2 separate regions of the Homo sapiens genome follow, and region 1 is linked to region 2. The links are contacts of gene promoters, found by promoter capture Hi-C in blood cells and fetal thymus (Javierre and others, 2016). All regions are on one chromosome and are shown on one strand. The core of a region is centred on a gene start or on the middle of the fragment in contact, and the rest is flanking DNA. Distances in the headings are between cores, read along the strand shown. Region 1 has its middle 36 kb from the start of LRPPRC. Region 2 holds the start of SLC3A1 (solute carrier family 3 member 1).

Region 1 (2,700 bases), core at 15-2,514, 240 kb before region 2:
TCCCATGAGGCATTTCAATGGAAGTGGGTAGTGGGTAACAGAGTCAGGATATCAGAAGCCATTTCCCAACTGGAGAAACATTAATTAATATGACAACTATTTTTTTTTTTGCATTTGCTATACTATACACCATACCTGCCACAGTCCTGATAAAGACACAGCAGTTAACAAAACAAAATTCCTATCTTTATTGACAAATAAGCGAATAGTACGTCAGATGGTGATAGAAAAACAAAGCAGAGAGAGGGGATAGGGAGAATTAGTAGGATATAGGTCTGAGATATAAGTTTAGAATTAGTTCCTTGGCTTCAAGAATTTGTGATAAATACAAATTCTGATGACCTTCAAGAAATGTCAGGATCCAGTCTCCAGTGGCAAGGTCCTTTCTATTTAAATCCATAACAGGGTCCACTCTGCTATTCGCCAGACTTCCCAGATCATAAGAATCACCCAGGAGGCAGAGGTTGCAGTGAGCTGAGATTGCCTCACTGCACTCCAGCCTGGGCAACACAGCCAGATTCTGTCTCAAAAAATAAACAAACAACAATAACAAAAAAACCTAAAGTGGCTTGGAAATTGCCACTTAGTGATTGGGAAGATTCCAGGAAATATTAATTTTTAAGAACATGGTTTATTCTCTTAGTTTCTTTGTCACAACCCCAAGTAATTTGGCAAAAAATTCTTCCTCCAGGCTAGATCCTATAGGTTGCAAGAGATGATATGCTAACTGCCCTCACAGAACTTACAGTTTAGTTGGGAGAAATGACTTCTGCACATGAAACCAAGAGCAGAGCTTAGATTTAAAATGAAAATAATCACACTTGGACATTGCTGGGTTGTCTCAGTTCCCAGGGGGATTACAATGAAGTGCACCCACTCCAGAACTAAAATGTATAGGACTGAATTGATGAGACTAGCCATCTAGAGAGAGACCCTTTAGTCTGAAGATGGGTGGCCAAACACTGTCAGATACCCTCAGCCTGAAACAGAATCCCCAGAAAAACATTGGGATGGATGGAGCCAATCAGAAAACAACAACAAAAAGAAAAGCAGTGATTTTCCTGGAATCTGGAAAATGGCATGAGGAGAATGGAGGATATACAAGATAAATAAATTCTTACCAAGTGTCTACCAAAGGCCAGGTTTGGGACTACTAGGCAACTGATGTTTCAACCCACGACAAGCTTGTGAGGCTGATTGTGCCTTTCTGCTTTATAGATGAGGAAGCCACCTCAGAAAAATTTAGTAGCTAACCCAAAATAAAGAAATTGCTTAAAGTCTATTTGACTTCAAATGCCAAGGATAACTAGGTAAGATTAACTCAAAGACAAATTTTTAAAGCTACAAGCTTTTTGTCTATGATAGTTTCTCTCTTTCTCTCCTCCCACCCTCAGACTCTTTTAAATATTTTTATTATTTATTTATTTATTTATTGATTTATTTATTTATTTAGAGACAGAGTCTTGCTCTTTCGCCCAGGCTAGAGTGCAGTGGCGATCTCGGCTCACTGCAAATCTACCCCCCAGGTTCAAGCGATTCTCCTGCCTCAGCCTCCCAAATAGCTGGGATTACAGGCGCCCGCCACCACACCCGGCTGATTTTTGTATTTTTAGTAGAGACGGGGTTTCACCGTGTTAGCCAGGATGGTCTTGATCTCCTGACCTCGTAGTCTGCCTGCCTCAGCCTCCCAAAGTGCTAGGATTACAGGCATGAGCCACTGCACCCGGCATATTTATTTATTTATTTATTTTTGAGACAGAGTCTTGTTCTGTCGCCCAGACTGGAGTGCAGTGGCACATTCTTGGTTCACTGCAACCTCCACCTCCCGGCTTCAAAGGATTCTCACGCCCCAGACTCCTGAGTAGTTGGGACTACAGGTGTGCACCACCACGCCCGGCTAATTTTTGTATTTTTAGTAGAGACAGGATTTCTTCCTGTTGGCCAGACTGGTCTCAAACTCCTGACCTCAAGCGATCAGCCTGCCTTGGCCTCCCAAAGTGCTGGGATTATAGGCGTGAATCACCATGCCCAGTCTCCTTTAAATATTCTTGATACTCCTATAGTGTCTGTTGACACGCATGCACTGGCTGTGGGAGCAATTCGGAGCTAGGACATGCAGCAGTTTCTCCGCCAGCTGAGTTGACAGCCTGGTGGACACACTTTTCCCACTTGTTTTTGTGGGACCAGTAGCTGTCAGAGACCTCCACCTCAAAAGCGTGACTTCTCCTGTCATAGGGTAAGGCTGCCAGGAGTCAGATTTTGAGATGAAGTTTAGCAGTGAGTTGATTGATTAAGGAGTGCTCTCATGATCAGTATTTACAGAAAGAAGGAGAAGAAACTGGGATTGGGTAGAAGTCGAGTTGTAATGCCATCCCAACAAAGGCCTCAGTTGATGCCACGGGGAACTCTTTAAGCACTAGGATGACCTCTCAGAGTTGTCCCAACTTAGGCTGATCTTAATACCCCACACTGATAAAAAAAAATCCTGGCAGGAAGTGTGACCTCAGGAGAGGCAATTTTGTTCACGCAAGTGCAATCTTCCTAGGGGACTAACAGCCGACGGCCAAGTTCCAGTAGCACTGCCAGTGGCTAGGGGAAAAAGACCTTCACTCCTAGAGGGGAATCTGGACCATGCATCACAGCGTTCACTACAACTTGCAAAAATTGTAGAGGATCGGCCAGAGTTAAGACTTTAGCCCA
Region 2 (2,700 bases), core at 124-2,623:
AGCGATTCTCCTGCCTCAGCCTCCCAAGTAGCTGGAATTACAGCATATGTCCCCATGCCCAGCTATTTTTTTTTTTTTTTTTTTTGAGATGGAGTTTCACTCTTGTTGCCCAGGCTGGACCGCAATGGCGTGATCTCCATTCACCGCAACCTCCGCCTTCCAGGTTCAACCGATTCTCCTGCCTCAGCCTCCCAAGTAGCTGGGACTACAGGCATGCGCCACCACACCTGGCTAATTTTGTATTTTTAGTAGAGACGGGGTTTCTCCATGTTGGTCAGGCTGGTCTTGAACTCCCAACCTCAGGTGATTCACTGGCCTCGGCCTCCTAAAGTATTGAGATTACAGGCGTGAGCCACCGCGCCTGGCCTAATTTTTGTATTTTTAATAGAGATGGGTTTTGCCATGTTGGCCAGGCTGGTCTCCAATTCCTGACCTCAAGTGATCCACCCGCCTTGTCCTCCCAAAGTGTTGGGATTACAGGCGTGATCCACCATGCCCAGCCTTCATTCCTTTTCAAAGCTGAATAATATTTCACTATATGTATAACCACATTGTTTATCTATCCATCTGATGATAGCTACCTGGGTTGTTTCCAATTTTTAATTTTTTAATTTATTTTTAGTTTCATTTTATTTTTATTTTCTTTCTTATTTATTTATTTTATTTTTTGAGACAGAGTCTCCCTCTGTCACCCAGGGTGGAGTGCCATGGCTCGATGTCAGCTCACTGCAACCTCTGCCTCCTGGGTTCAAGTGATTCTCCTGCCTCAGCCTCCTGAGTAGCTGGGATTACAGGCATGCACCACCACGCCCGGCTAATTTTTGTATTTTTAGTAGAGACGGGGTTTCACCATGTTGGCCAGGCTGGTCTTAAACTCTTGACCTCGGGTGACCTGCCTGCCTCAGCCTCCCAAACTGCTGGGATTACAGGTGTGAGCCAAGATGCCCAGTGGAGATTTTTTTTTTTTTTGTGGGATGGATTCTCGCTCTTGTCGCCCAGGCTGGAGTGCAGTGGTACGATCTCGGCTCACTGCAACGTCTGTCTTCCGGGGTCAAACGATTCTCCTGCCTCAGCCTCCCGAGCAGCTGGGATTACAGGTGCACACCACCACGCCTGGCTAATTTTTATACCTTTAGTAGAGACGGGGTTTGGCCATGTTGGCCAGGCTAGTCTCAAACTCCTGCCCTTGGTGATCTGCCCGCCTCGGCCTCCCAAAGTGCTGGGATTACAGGCATGAACCACCGCGCCAGTCCCGAGATTTTTTTTTTAAACCTCTGTACTTTTACCCTTTCTTCCTTGGCTGGACTTTGTCCAGCTAGGTTTATTTATAAACCACACAAAGTTCATTAACAAGACCAAGCATTCAGCAAGCCACTCTTCCACCTCCCTTACTGCAGGAAGGCACTCCGAAGACATAAGTCGGTGAGACATGGCTGAAGATAAAAGCAAGAGAGACTCCATCGAGATGAGTATGAAGGGATGCCAGACAAACAACGGGTTTGTCCATAATGAAGACATTCTGGAGCAGACCCCGGATCCAGGAAGCTCAACAGACAACCTGAAGCACAGCACCAGGGGCATCCTTGGCTCCCAGGAGCCCGACTTCAAGGGCGTCCAGCCCTATGCGGGGATGCCCAAGGAGGTGCTGTTCCAGTTCTCTGGCCAGGCCCGCTACCGCATACCTCGGGAGATCCTCTTCTGGCTCACAGTGGCTTCTGTGCTGGTGCTCATCGCGGCCACCATAGCCATCATTGCCCTCTCTCCAAAGTGCCTAGACTGGTGGCAGGAGGGGCCCATGTACCAGATCTACCCAAGGTCTTTCAAGGACAGTAACAAGGATGGGAACGGAGATCTGAAAGGTACATGCCCAGAGATCATTTAGGGTGGGTGCCAGGATGAGATTGGTTTATGGTTCTTTTGTTCTTCAGAACCAAATTATGCCTGGGTTGTTCAGTAAGCACATTCCATTATGACTGGTCATGCCAAGTTGCTCCTTGTTTATGATATTCTTAGAAAATCACTCAGCAGAACCCAGCAGTTATTTTACTAGCTGAAGGGCTATTTGCTGAAGGCCTTTGAGCCAAACGAGTTGTTTAATTTATTGCCCACTAAGTACATACAGTTGTTCAGTCATCAATTCTAACTTCTTAGAGCAGCCTTCCTTCTAAAATCTATGTCCTGTTTCTGGGGACTTTATAGTTGAATATGTCAGGGTGGCAGTTGGGAATTGCTTTCCCAGTATACGAAGCAGCTAGTTTGGCTGTGTGGCTGGGAGTGTATTAGTGAATAAAGCATAAATAATATTTTTTTAAAAATCAAGTGATATCTGTAAAAAGTATAGGCTGAGTCTTAAAGTTTAAATTCTAAAAAAGGAAGGGAAGTAGAAAAGGGGTAGCAGTATGCATTCGTCATTACTTGAATTAAGGATTGTTTAAAACCATGTCCGTATTAGTATAAAACAAGTAAAGAATTAACCAGGGGTAGTGGCGCATGACTGTAGTTGCAGCTACTTGGGAGGCTGAGGTGGGAGGATCGCTTGAGCCCAGGAGCTCTCAGCCAGCCAGCTTAGGCAACATAGGGAGACCCCGTCTCCAAAAAGAAAAAAAAAAAAGTGAAAAATTATTTTTTAAAAGCTAAGTTAATTTCTTGGTGGGTTATGTGTAAAACATCCTTACAATATATTGCTCAAACCAGAACATA

Evidence for each region. Contacts are between HindIII fragments. The CHiCAGO score rates a contact against its expected background, and 5 or more counts as called.
Region 1: a contact is called between a fragment that was not itself captured here and the fragment with the promoter of SLC3A1 in region 2, in 3 of 17 cell types (M2 macrophages, M0 macrophages and M1 macrophages). The highest score is 7.6, in M2 macrophages.

Annotation. Positions count from the first base shown.
Region 1 is chr2:44,030,428-44,033,127 of GRCh38, forward strand. No RefSeq gene overlaps it. Among named protein-coding and RNA genes, the nearest start is that of LRPPRC, 36 kb to the left of the region's middle. The HindIII fragment of the contact is 164 bases long and covers 1,183-1,346 here.
Region 2 is chr2:44,274,107-44,276,806 of GRCh38, forward strand. SLC3A1 (solute carrier family 3 member 1) reads left to right here and starts at 1,374. Exons shown (of 10, transcript NM_000341.4): 1 at 1,374-1,859. The coding sequence starts at 1,430. The HindIII fragment of the contact is 21,913 bases long and covers 1-2,700 here.